Linked DNA regions of Homo sapiens: all the other regions are linked to region 3. Evidence: promoter capture Hi-C in 16 types of primary human blood cells and fetal thymus (Javierre and others, 2016). All regions are on one chromosome and are shown on one strand. Each heading gives the region's core, a stretch centred on a gene start or on the middle of the fragment in contact. The rest is flanking DNA. Distances are from core to core; before and after follow the strand shown.

Region 1 (2,700 bases), core at 156-2,655, 1.6 Mb after region 3:
CCAGCTCCACTCCTGCCCCCTCCCACACACCTTACAATAATCAACTCAAAACACTGACTCAGGGCTTTTTTGAGCTCCCTTAGGGGAAAAAAAATTGTCTTCACAGAGGGCTCTTGTGTGGACTAGAGATAGCGAATATAAGTTGTAGGCAACGAATAACAGGTAGCTATTTTGAATATAGAAGCAGGACGCTTCTATCTCACATAAGTTTATATTTCACTTTAATTGTTGAGAAAGCCCTGGGTTGGTGTTTTCAATTGGATGCAGTCATTCAAGGAGCTGATTTTATAGCCTTAAGTATTCATTGAGTCAAGAATTATTATGGCTGCATTTTTTGTAAAGGCTGAATAATTTTATTGCCATCAATGAGATTGGTAGCTGAGGAAGCTGAGGCAATGATGAAAATAATTAAATCATGTGCTTCAGGGCACAAAGCAATCAAATACAGATGAATGGAAAACAATTTTGCATTCCTCTCTGATCCTTTTGAGCTTCTTTTATCACCCCCTCCACCCTTCCAAAACCCAATACCACCACTGGCTGAGAATATGGCGCAACTGTGTCTTTCACCAGAGGCTTAGTGAGCTGTGGTTGCTGTAGCCAAACAGGATAGGGTCCAGGCAGACCAGATGATGAGATTCTGCCAGAGACAAGCTTTATTTCTTTGGCTCCCCTCCTCCTTTAACTGACTGTGTGAGGATTTCTAGTAGCATTATTTATTATAATTAATTGTTTCACTTCACTGATCAAAAGCTGCTTCCAAATCTGATCCAAGGACAAGAACAGTCCCTGAAATTCATGGATCTTGACATTACAAGCCCCATAAACCTTCAATGAGGAAAGACTGAACTTGTGTGTAGCAATGCCCTTGGTGCACTTTTGCAGACCATAATCAACTTTCTGTACAGAGAAGTCGAAGTGTCCGGCTACATTTGGGAGCCTTTGATGTCGTCCCCTTCCTTACAGCTCTCAAATCAAACAATGCTCTTCTGTCTTAAGCTGTGGCTATCTCTGTAAATAGTCTCAGAGAAAGGCATCCTTGTAATTGCAACATATGCCAAATTGCTCTCTTCCAGATGATTAAAAAGAGCAAATTTAATTCCCCTGTGATATCAAATAGGCTATACCATTATCATGTCATGTTACATGAAGGCCACAAGAAACTCTATTTCAATATTCAGTGTCTTCAGTATAATTTAGAGATGATATTATGTTTAGACTAGTCCATCCCCAGCACTTACAAAAATAAAAAAAAGAAATAAAAATAATCATCTTCATTGGGATAGGCAACTAAGCTCTATGGAAGAGAAGATTACCACACCATAGTTTTGTAAGAACCATTCCAAAGATATGTTTACTAGCTATCTTTTCATTGGTTAGGGCTCAGCATGTAAAATGTAAGTGACTTGAAGGTAACCCCTCTATATCATACCTGTTTCCTTTGTCTTTGCAAATGTATAGCTCCACTCAAATTTAATAGTCCATAAATATTAGTTGATTGATTTACTGATTTGCAAAACACATGTTGTGCTCCCCTTTATCCTCAGGCTCTTCCTGATGTGAGTGTGAACCTCCTCCACTGGCCTAAACAGAGAAAAGAGACAGGACAGATATGAAGAGATTCAACTAAAGTGGAGGTGTGTGTTGAGGAGGTGGGGAGAATCAGCATAAGCAATCCATTAAGGACACTGGGAATCAGTGAAACATTCATCGCTCACATTGACTTTCCACTGGGAAGCTGCTGCAATATTCTCTTGCCCCTTCCCTGTGCAACCCTTCCAGTAGCATCCCCTGTGAATTATGTGGATATTGCATGGCCCTGACACTAGAACACCTTTGCTTCTTCCATTAAGACTTAGTTTTCTGAGAGGGAAGGCTGTGAGGCTGTAAGAAATTATCTCTTTAGTCCACAGATCTCCAAAATATAGGGATAGATTATGCTTTGTGATTTAGAATAGTGTTACATTTTTATTTAAGTTATCAGGAACCTTTTGTATTTGAGACTTGTATTTCAGAAAAGAATAAATCAGTATTTCTTTAGAGATATCAAAGATTTTTTAGATTTTTCTATGATATGTAATTCAGAGATAGAGAACTTTATCTGCTTCTAGCTAATATGCTAGATTGTCTTTTCTCAGTAACAATGGGAAAGCTTCCAATTGGGAAAAATTGTCACCCCGTTTCACACATAATGTATAAGGAAATGCTGAAATTCCTCTTCAGTAATCTCTATAGGAGAAGACAAATCTAATCCTCAAATGATTCAATGGTTACTTATTGAGTTTCTAATATAGATGGGGATGACTGCTTAGAGAAGTGTAAAGTTATAAGGAAGGTTTAAAAAGTGCTTCCTGTTTGCAGGGAGTTCATAATTTCATGAGAACAGAATACATAAATGTATAAGCTTATGGATTTATTCAAACACCTGTGCATCTGGCATTCCCAGTCCTAAGAAGTTGCAACACATTCACATAGCAACCCATGTTAGAATACCAGGAGTCACCATTGACTCCTTTGTCTCTCATTCCCCTGGCTAGCTGCTAGTCCCAAAGATCTATAGATTCTACCTCCTTAATAGCTCTAAATAAATTTCATCTACAACATCCTCCTGCCTTGGTTCAGAATTCCATCTTGCCTTAATTCCCAGAATAGCCTCCTAAGTAGTCTTTTTATGTCAACTCTCAAATACCTCCACCTCTC
Region 2 (2,700 bases), core at 64-2,563, 1.0 Mb after region 3:
CCGCTAATCTCTTTGCTAAAACATAACAAGAGTTACCTTTGCTCCACCATCAACAAGTCTCTAGGAGGTTCCAAACTTTCCTACATTTTCCTGTCTTGTTCTGAGCCCTCCAAACTGTTCCAGCCTCTGCCTGTTACCCAGTTCCAAAGTTGCTTCCACATTTTTTGGGTATCTTCAGCAATGCCCCATTCTACTGGTCCTAATTTACTGTATTAGTCTGTTTTCATGCTGCTGATAAAGACATCCCCAAGACTGGGAAGAAAAAGAGGTTTAAGTGGACTTACAGTTCCACTTGGCTGGGGTGGCCTCAGAATTACGGTAGGAGGTGAAAGGCACTTCTTACATGGTGGCAGCAAGAGCAAATGAGGAAGAAGCAAAAGCAGAATCCCCTAATAAACCCATCAGATTTTGTGAGACTTATTTACTATCACGAGAATAGCATGGGAAAGATTGGCCCCCATGATTCAATTACCTCCCCCTGGGTCCCTCCCACAATACGTGGGAATTCTGGGAGACACAATTCAAGTTGAGATTTGGGTGGCGACACAGCAAAACCATATCAAATCCCAAGACACAAACAGACTGCCACAGAGGCATGTGGCCCTGCAGCATCTGCCTGTACCTGTGACTGGCCTGATGGCTGGTCTGGTGGTGCCCCCCTCACTCTGAAGAGATAGCCTGACAGCCACTGGGCGGTTGCACCAACATATGCCCAAGCCTTGCCCAACAACCAGCCTGGAAGTTCCTACCACCTCCCCCAAAAGCCCTACAGACAGCCTGTTGGCTTTCTGTATCTGCACATGCCTAGCTCAACAACCAGATGCACAGATATCAATTTGGGGACATAAGAAACAAAAACAAAAAAAAGGCAGGAAAACATTGTCACCCTCCAAAAAAACAATACCTCTTAAGTAAAATAACTCGCCATTTATTAAATGCCTGAAAAGGAATTCAAATTGATAATCATAAGGAAAGTCGGGAAGTTACAAAAGAACACAGTCAATTTAATAAAATCAGGAAACAGTTCATGATCTAAATAAGGAATTTTGATAGATATCATAAAAAAGAACAAACTAAATGATGGAGCTGAATAAGTCAATGAATTAAGTTTTAAAATACAATTGATAGAGAGACTGATATGTGAGCGTTCATGTTGCCCTGCATGGGAATTTTGTGAAGAAGCTAGATAAAAGGGAGGGGGATAAAAGCAAGGAGAATACAGAGACTCTAACCAGACAATCCCTCCACGTGGGGGGTGGCAAAAGAGTTATGGCCTAAAATCTGGATGATTCTGAGCAAGACAGTGTGGAATCCCAGGACATGGGATCCTTGGAAAGAAGGGGAGGATAGTGAGAATGATATGGAGGTGACAGAAACCTGAGGGCCTTTCCACAGTGTGTCTGACAGTACACTGGAAGGCAAAAGCCAAGAACATCATGCCATTCAGTTGGCTTCAAAATAAATAAATAGATAAATAAAATTAAGAGCTTCAACAACACATTATATCAACCAAAAGAAATAATGCAATCAGAGGAAAAATAAAGAAATAAGAATTAAAAACAAGGAAAGAAGAAATCCTAAAAGGCTTGTGGGATCATTAAGCTGACAATTTTTTTTATTACTATTATATGAGTACTAGAGAGAGAATAGGTGGAAAAACGTGCAGAAACCCTATTCTGCAAAATAATAACTGAAAACTTTCTAAGTGGTGAGATGGATATGAACATACAGATTCAGGAAGCTCAAAAGCCCTAATTATATTCAATACAAACTCTCTGAAGAACATTATAATCAAACTGTCAAAAGCCAAAGATAAAGAGAGATTTCTAAAAGCAGCAAGAGAAAGTGTCAACTCACGTATAAAACAGTCACCTTTACAGTATCATCACATTTCTTAGCAGAAACCTTGCAGACGAGGAGAGAATGGAATCATATATTCAAAGTGCTCAAATAAAGCAAATAACTGTCAGCCAATAAAACTATTCCAGCAAAGCTATTCTTCGGAAATAAAGGAGAAATAAAGGCCTTTCCTGACAAAAAAAAAAAAAAAAAAAAAAAGCAAAGAGAATTCACCATTAGACTGGCCTGATAAGAATTGCTTAAAGAGTGCTGCAACTGGAAACAAAGGATAATGATCACTATCATGAAAACACATGAATGTATAAAACTCACCAGTAGACATAAAGTTATAACTTATACCCAGAATACCCCAGTGATGTAATGGTGCTATGTACATCTTTCAATTGTCTAGTATGAAGTTTTGAAGTAAAAATAGTAAAAAAAACACTTTGGGAGGCCATGGTAGGTGGATTACCTGAGGTCAGGCCAACATGGTGAAACCCTGTCTCTACTAAAAAATACAAAAATTAGCCAGGTGTGGTGACGGGTGCCTGTAATCCCAGCTACTTGGGAAGCTGAGATCGGAGAATTGTTTGAACCCGGGAGGTGGAGGTGGCAGTGAGCCAAGAGCACACCATTGCACTCCAGCCTAGGCAGCAAGAGCAAAACCCCATCTAAAAATAAATAAATAAATAAAAGTAAAAATCAACAGATTCAATTGGTGGCTAAGAAACAATAATAGATAAGCAAATTATGGCAACACAAATATAAATTGTGGGGAAAGGGAAATAATATAGAGTCTTTTTATATGACCAAATTTAAGTTGCTATCAGCTTAAATTAATCTGTTATAACTTTAAGA
Region 3 (2,700 bases), core at 59-2,558:
GGGCGCACGGCTCTGGACTCTGCTCACTCACGCGGCCTCTCCCTCGCCCTCGACTCCGCCGCAGCCTGGACCGGTCCTCGCGGTCTCCCGACAGCCAACGATGGTTTACAAACACACATGCACTTCGCTGAAGGATGTCTGGGCAATCCCGCCTCCCGCTCGGCGTCCTTGGCGACGCTCTGCACCAGGACCTGCCCCGAGGTCACGCAGAAAAGACAAAAGGGCAGTCGGGCCGCCGCAGCCGGGCAGAAATATCCACTAGTCAGCACTCCGGCGAGGAACTCCAAGAGGCCAAGTGGAGGATGAGAGCTGCTGCGAAGACTGAGTGGGGACTGACTGGGGGCGGACTTAAAAACCAGGCAGACCGGAAGGAGTGGAAAGGCAAAGGCCAAGGTTGGAGGTGTCAGCGTCCTGCTGGGGCGTACTGGAGAATGGCTCGGTGGCAGGTGGGCGGGTGGGATCCACTACTCCAGGCAGAGCCAGGCGGCAGCTGAATGGCAGTAGTGTGTGCGCGCGTGTCAACCCCGCTCGTCTCCCAGATAAGCCGCAGCTCCGCGGCAGACACCTGATGGCAAAGGTAGAAGAAACAAGAGCCGGGTTCCGGAGGGCGCAGAGCCACGGCCGGCCCCCGGCGGTCTCCCACTAGTGGTTCGTCCTTCTCAAAGTGCAGCAACTTTTCCCAGGCTTTGAATTCCGTCCCCCAAGGCCACAGTGGCGGTACCCCTGCCGGCGTGGCGACGCCGCCCGGCTCCTGGCGCTGCACCTGACGCGGCGGCCGCAGTCCCGGGTAGTCCTTCTCCTTCTAGCCCCTTCCCCTCTCCCGCTGCTTTCCTGGCCTCCCGCTCCAGGGAGCGAGGTCGGGGAGAGGGAGGGCGACGACTCAGAGCGGGGACTCGGTGGCTCTGCCGACTCCGGAGCCCCTGGCAAGTGTCTAAACAATAGGACGGACGCAGCAGCCCAAGTCTCGCTTGTCTGGAAGGAAGGTGGGTTGTTGTCGTAACTGGAGTTGTTCGCTGGGGCTGACTGGCGCTCAGCGTAGCCAAACAAAAACCCGGCCCGCGCCTCCGGAGCCGGCTGCGGGCCCCCGGCGCTCCCCTTTCTGCTCAGCACTCCCGCCGTGCCCAGAAAGCGCGGCAGCTTCGGCCTGCGCCTGGGCGCTTCGGCGCTCCCATGCCTCGCAGCTGCCTCCGCCTCCGCCGCCGCCGCCGCCGCCGCCTTCTTTTTTTTAACCACAGTCTGCGGCAGCCACCACCACCGCCGCCGCCAAGCTCCGCCGTCCGGGCGCTTCCCAAATAAATAACACCAAGTCCGAAGTTGAGCCGGCGCGGGCCTTATATAGCCGCCCGAGCCTCCGCCCCCTGACCCCGCCCCTCGAGGCCCAGGCCCGCCCCCTGGCTCCGCTCTGGGAGCCCGCACCTCGCTGGGGAGAGGGGAGAGGTGAGGCCGGGGCTGCCAGCGCTGGGCGGAGGCGGCGGCTGGCGGCGCGCGTTCCCGTGCGCCCTGGCTCGCCCCCTCGCTCCCACGCGCGGGCAAACTTGGCCCGAAGAAGGAGCCACCCGAGCCCCAGCCCCCAACTCCTTGGCCCCAGAGGTGACCTGGGCTCGGAGATAGTCGTTTGCAGTGGGAGAATGGGAAGAGGTCGGCTTTGAACGCGGCTCATAAATAAACAGCCCTGCCAGTGCCTCTCCTGCAGCTTTTGCCACGCGATCCTTAAGGGGGCTGCTCACTCTTTGCAGCGCAGCAAGAGACAGAGAGACAGAAACAGAGAAATTATGATTTAAATTTAAGAAAAATCCTACCGAAATAGATCTGCCTGCGCTTACAGACACACACGTGTATTTTGGGGAGCTGAAAAGTTCAGTTTTTGCAAGTTGGAAAACAGCATTTTCCAACCTTCTTGCTTGCCTTTCTATCTCCAAGCCACCCCCTTCCGTTTAACCCTTCCTTTGTAGACACACACTGAACCACACCGTGGTCAGTTGATGTCTTGGATATTCAATAGGCTCACAAAACTCTTAAGGGCTTGAACGTATCTGTGTGATTTTTTACTCTCTTATGAGAGAAAGGAGGGGAAAAAATAAATCCCTAGCAACGCACATTATACCAGAAGGTTTTCTTTATTTCAGGGCAGTTCTGGATATTTTTTTCCCCGCTATGTTTTGAAAGAGAATTTCCTTGTTTCATCTTGTCTCTTTAGTGTGACGTATGTCTGGCAACGGCTGCCTCTCTCGCCCCCCTTTCCCCCCCAGCAAGAGCCAATGTCACTGTAAGTTTGAAATGACATCTAAATGACTCTGCTCCTTCTCTTGGATTTAATATGCATCATATTGTTGTTCTTCCTCCCATTTCCACGTTAAGAAGCTTTCCCTGGAATTTGTGCAAGCCCCCGCCTAATACCAGCCTCATATTGTAGTAGTTATTTGTATAATTATTAGAAGCTTCCTTGAAAGCAAGACCTGTCCAACTCTTTGTATTTCCAGCATCTATGCCTGCCACATAATAGGTTTCCTCATAAGTAACCGATTTCTTTAACTCAAGAGTATGCTCAACCTAAAATCTCTGCAATATCCTCATTAACGTTTTTCCTGGTTAACATTTTCTAAGATGTCCTTTCATAATGGCTACCCCTACTTACCTCATTTTGCCTGCCTTGGAAAACGTAAGCCTTTTCGAGGACACGCCCAAAGGCAGGGTACCATC
Region 4 (2,700 bases), core at 164-2,663, 1.0 Mb after region 3:
TACCTGCTAGTTAGCACACCATTGAATATCACTTGTCTGTATTAGTTTGTCTGCTTAACAATTTTAAATATATATAGACTCTGTGTATCAGCAGTGACCAATTTAGAATTATCTAGACTTGGCTTTGAATTGTGGGTTGGGCTTAACTCTGTTGCATGTGTTTTCCAATTTATTTATCTTTAGTCAGTAGTTATTCATGTCATGTTCATTTTATAGATGATCACAGGAACTTAAGAAAGCAAGGCAAGCCATGCCCACATGTTTAAGTCCACATCATATTTATTAATATTTTATTAAGCAAAAAAGGTCACAAAACCAAGACAGAAATCATGGCACTGGACAAATGTACTCCACCCATAGTGAAAGACACGCAAAGGTTCATAGCAAAGTAAGTGGATATAATCAGTTTACCACAATGCCATAACAAATTCAGCAAATTAAAGCATGTATGCTTTATAAGTGAAAAAATGCATATTATATTTCGAAGATTGACAATGATAATCCTAATTTTTGACCATGAGATGATAAGCAATGTTTTTCCATTTCTAAATATCATTTTATAGTCATTTTCTATATGGCAAAGTAGATTAAAATATAATAATATGAAAAATAAAATATCCTGTAAATTTATTGAACTAAGGGTAATTTTACTATGACACACCTCAGTGTGCTGAAAGCAAATGAAAAATTGTGATGGTCTTAATTGTTAGATTTGTGGTGAATACCCCATCTTTACCTTGGGCATCATCAACATACCACAAGTAATATTTTCCTTTTAGACATATGAACCTGATATGAAAACTAGGGTGAAAACATAAATATTCATAAAAATCATAAAGATCACAATAAATTTTCTATGAATCATTTTGTGAATACCATTTGGGAGACTACTTCATAGAGTAATAATTAAAAGCCTAGACTCTGTAAACCAGTTATTACTATTATTATTATTTATTTTAAGTTCCGGGATACATGTGCAGGATGTGCAGGTTTGTTACATAGGTAAGCATGTGCCATGGTGGTTTGCTTCACATATCAACCAATCACCTAGATATTCAGCCCAGCATGCATCAGCTATTTTTCCTCATGCTTTCCCTCCCTCTACCACCCCTCCCTGCCTGACTGAAGGCCCCAGTATGTGTTGTTTCCCTCAAGGTGTCCATGTGTTCTCACTGTTCAGCTCCCACTTTCAAGTGAGAGCAGGTGGTGTTTGGGTTTTCTGTTCCTGTGTTAGTTTGCTGAGGATAATGGCTTCCAGCTCCATCCATATCCCTGCAAAGAAGATGATCTCATTCTTTCTTATGTCTGCATAGTATTTCGTGGTGCATATGTACTACATTTTCTTTATCCAGTCTATCATTGATGGGCATTTGAGTTGATTCCATGTCTTTGCTATTATGAATAGTGCTGCAGTGAACGTATGGACACATGTATTTTTAAAATAGAATGATTTATATTCCTTTGGGTATATACCCAGTAATGGGATTGCTGGTTCAAATGGTATTTCTGTTTCTATATCTTTGAGGAATCACCACACTGTCTTCCACAATGGTTGAACTAATTTAAATTCCCACCAACAGTGTAAAGTGTTCCTATTTCTCTACAGCCTTGCCAGCATCTGTTGTTTCTTGACTTTTTAATAATTGCCACTCTGACAGTGTGAGATGGTATCTCACTGTGGTTTTGACTTGCATTTCTCTAATGATCCGCGATGCTGAGCTTTTTTCCATGTTTGTTAGGTGCAAAATCTCTTCTTTTGAGAAGCATCTGTTCATGTCCTTTGCCCACTTTTTAATGGGGTTGTTTGTATTTTTCTTGTAAATTTGTTTAAGTTCCTTGTAGATTCTTGATATTAGACTTTTGTCACACAGGTAGATTGCAAAAATTTTCTCCCAATCTGTAGCTTGCCTGTTCACTCTGATGATAGTATCTTTTGCTGTGCAGAAGCGCTTTAGTTTAATTAGATCCCATTTGTCAATTTTGGCTTTTATTGCAATTACTTTTTATGTTTTAGTTATGAAATCTTTGCTCTTGCCCATGTCCTGAATGGTATTGCTTAGATTTTCTTCTAGGGTTTTTATAGTTTGGGGTTATAAATTTAAGTCTATAATCCACACTGACTTAATTTTTGCATAAGGTGTAAGGAAGGGTCCAGTTTCAATTTTTTGCATATGACTAGCCAGTTCTCCCAGCACCATTTATTAAATAGGAAACAGTTTCTCCAACACTTTTTTGTCAGGTTGGTCAAATATCAGATGGTTGTAGATGTGGGGTCTTATTTTTGAGTTCTCTATTCTGTTGCATTGGCCTATGTGTCTGTTCTTCTACCAGTGCCATGCTGTTTTGGTTACTGTAGCCTTGTAGTGTAGCTTGAAGTCAGGGAATGTGATGCCTCCAGCTTTGTTCCTTTGCTTAGGATTGTCTTGGCTATCTGGGCTCTTTTTTTGTTCCATATGAATTTTAAAGTAGTTTTTTTCTAATTCTGTGGAGAATGTCAATGGTAGTTTAATGGGAATAGCATTGAATCTCTACATCACTTTGGGCAGTATGGCCATTTTCATAATGATTCTTCCTATCCATGAGCATGGAATGTTTTTCCATTAGTTTGTGTCCTCTCTGATTGCCATGAGCAGTGGTTTGTAGTTCTCCTTGAAGAGGTCCTTTACTTCCCTTGTTATCTGTATTCTTATATGTTTTATT
Region 5 (2,700 bases), core at 100-2,599, 1.6 Mb after region 3:
CAAACATTTGACCCAAAATTTCTACAACAAGCTATGTTGCTGCCTGGTATCAGGACAAAGGAAACATAACTTTATAGGAGATTTACAAAGTACACTTTCCTTCCATACCCTTTGTAAAAAAAAAAAAAAAAAAGAATAGTCAATTTGCATCACAGTCAGCTGAGAAATGAATAAAAGTATAGCCTTCAAGTACTTTTACAATGGTACCTAACCACGTACATGAACACACACACACACACACACACACACACACAGGAAATTTAAAAGATAATTTTGTAAGCATCAATCTTTTAAGGGTACTAAAATATCACTGGAATAAATTGAAAATACTATACTAATTACCTCAAGTTTCTACATATAACTCCTTATATAATTGATGAAATGGAAATTGGGATCACTCCAGCCAAAATCATGTCCTTAAGTGAAATTTTTTAGAAAATAAAATAAATTTTTCAAAGAGCCCACTTCTAATTGGTACCAAAATATAGACATCAACTATGGAGACATTATGGTATTAAAAACATATAGTAATGAGAAATAAAACTAAATATACTATAAGTTTGAAGAATTATTAAAGTTTATACACTTTAAAGCACATGAGACAATACTTTTTGCAAAGAATTATAACTAAAACATAATATATAAATATTCATATATTTATAATGGTAACATTATAATCACAATATAAAGTACACATTTACTATTAATATGGGTTTTAAATTTCAGATTTTATCAACAAAAATTGGGATTTGGTTTGAAAGTAGCAAAATAAAACCATGTTAGTTTCCATTGTATTCGGGAAGAGTATAGGTATAGAAACATATACATATGTTTTTTTCTTGATGATAATTTCAAAAAATGTCACATAAACTATACCTAAATACCCAAGGTAAATTCACAAAGAGAGGTGTGCATTGAATTGATGGGGCTGTAGTTTGCCTAAGCTGGTATTCAGATACCCGGAATACACACTGACCACTTATTCACCCCTATACTTTCTGGGTCCACATGCCTGGCCTTTTGTGGCTGGCTTGCCAAAATGGATTTAAGAAAATCTTTTTCCTGGGGCATCTGGAACTGAAAAGGTTGTGCTACCTGCTCTGAAATTTGCATCCTTCAGCAGTTTCGTGCAAATAAAGGATTTCCTCATCTGCTCTGTCCATCATCTGTGGTCTCTCTATGTCTGCTTCAAAATCACTTGGCAGTGGACACATTGACACTGCCCCTGCACCAACACCTTGCGCTCACCCCCACTGCATGCCACAAGCCCTGAACCTTCAACAGCTGCATTGTATTGTGCTTACAAAGTTCAAATTGCTGCTAAAATACCCTTTGGCGCTATTCCTCTGTTACAACATTTTGACTTATCTGGACCTGAGATGGCTCACGTGGCGATTTCTGGCCAGGCCCCCATGGTTTCCAGCCAACATTTGCAAATATAGTTAGGAAGACATCCTCTTCCCAGAGGTGTGCATCAGGAATAATTACAGAACTAAGAAATCTTCCATCTCACTAGTTCTGGTTAGTGGCCTTGAATCTGAGAGCCCCCTCTTGTGTTTAAATCAACTTACATTTGCATGCAAGTGTGTGTGGGGTTCCAGGAATTCATAACATGTCACATCTCACAACAAAGCCACCCTGTGAAGGACCAACCCAGCAGGACCTAGAAATGTATCCATGGTCCCCATCCTGCCCCCTGCTCAGAATTCTCACTCCCTGAATCACCTCTCAGACCGAGCCAGGTCTGCAGCGCTGTTAAAAAGCCACTGTATTTGCTTTCTTGCTTTCCCTTGCTTACTTTTCACACCTTTCCTGCTTTGGGGGGAGGTGATCCGGCTTTCAGATGTAAAAGAGCCGGCTTCTGAGCCCTGGGTTCCACCGAGGAGTGAAAGTAAACAGGAAGGGAGAAGGCTCACAGAAGTCTTTATAACCTGTATGTTAAATTATGTCAACAGGATGCTGAGAACAGGATCTGTTGAGGAAATTCCACAACTAAATAATGAAAGCTCCATGGTACCTGAATGGAGAGGTCTGGATGGTATTCCCTTTGATCTAACTACATAGTTATAAGAGAGCTTGAAGGAGAGAGTTTCGAAACAAAGAAAAAAAGTAACATTCGATAATCCAAAGAGTAAGGCTATTGGTTAGGGACGGCTAGACTTGGTTCCCACTTTAGAGGCTGAAACCAAGCCATGGCTTCAGAGAAACAGAGTTTCTTTTGATTCTGATTAAGAGTTTAGCTTTTGGGAGAAGTGATGTGTGGTGCTGGTTTTCCCACAGTGTTTTTGTTTTGTTTTGTTGTGTTTTTGTTTTTTTTTTTAAGTTTCTGTAAAGGAACTCACTTCAGCCTCAGAAGAACACATCCAAGTTAATAAAGAGATATGAGGGGCAAAAAAAATATTACCTCCCTCCTCACCTACTCTAGGGAACACATCCCCATGTGGGAATGCTTAAACTTCCCCCACAATCTTTCTCAGAGACATCAAAGGATGTTGACTTAGGTTTAATAGTTTACAATTGGAATTTGTCTTTATGAAAATGCAGGGCTGTGTAATTTATGGAAATTAAGCATGCATGCATCTCCATTGTGCTAGATGCATTATGATAGAGTAGGATTAGGCAGAAAGACAGGGACTTCATGACATATTAAAATACTTTGTGTCTAAACACTGCCCAGAGACTGAAGAGGGATTTAAAAAA

Evidence for each region. The method cuts DNA at HindIII sites, captures the fragments that hold promoters and counts their contacts. A CHiCAGO score of 5 or more calls a contact.
Region 1: a fragment that was not itself captured here is called in contact with the fragment with the promoter of SLIT2 in region 3 in 1 of 17 cell types (total B cells); the score reaches 5.1 in total B cells.
Region 2: a contact is called between a fragment that was not itself captured here and the fragment with the promoter of SLIT2 in region 3, in 1 of 17 cell types (M1 macrophages). The highest score is 5.3, in M1 macrophages.
Region 4: a contact is called between a fragment that was not itself captured here and the fragment with the promoter of SLIT2 in region 3, in 2 of 17 cell types (M2 macrophages and M1 macrophages). The highest score is 7.5, in M2 macrophages.
Region 5: a fragment that was not itself captured here is called in contact with the fragment with the promoter of SLIT2 in region 3 in 5 of 17 cell types (endothelial precursors, total B cells, M2 macrophages and 2 more); the score reaches 12.2 in endothelial precursors.

The regions. Positions count from the first base shown.
Region 1 is chr4:18,674,048-18,676,747 of GRCh38, reverse strand. The region is part of intron 2 of LOC105374510 (a long non-coding RNA gene); the gene reads right to left. Among named protein-coding and RNA genes, the nearest start is that of LCORL, 650 kb to the right of the region's middle. The HindIII fragment of the contact is 1,498 bases long and covers 657-2,154 here.
Region 2 is chr4:19,247,361-19,250,060 of GRCh38, reverse strand. All of the region lies in intron 2 of LINC02438 (long intergenic non-protein coding RNA 2438), which reads left to right. Among named protein-coding and RNA genes, the nearest start is that of LINC02438, 210 kb to the left of the region's middle. The HindIII fragment of the contact is 2,936 bases long and covers 1-2,700 here.
Region 3 is chr4:20,250,513-20,253,212 of GRCh38, reverse strand. It overlaps SLIT2 (slit guidance ligand 2), which reads right to left and starts at 1,308. Exons shown (of 37, transcript NM_004787.4): 1 at 1-1,308. RefSeq lists an enhancer at 1-192. The HindIII fragment of the contact is 6,723 bases long and covers 1-2,363 here.
Region 4 is chr4:19,202,737-19,205,436 of GRCh38, reverse strand. No RefSeq gene overlaps it. Among named protein-coding and RNA genes, the nearest start is that of LINC02438, 250 kb to the left of the region's middle. The HindIII fragment of the contact is 6,133 bases long and covers 1-2,700 here.
Region 5 is chr4:18,690,660-18,693,359 of GRCh38, reverse strand. The region is part of intron 2 of LOC105374510 (a long non-coding RNA gene); the gene reads right to left. Among named protein-coding and RNA genes, the nearest start is that of LCORL, 670 kb to the right of the region's middle. RefSeq lists an enhancer at 759-1,692. The HindIII fragment of the contact is 6,213 bases long and covers 1-2,700 here.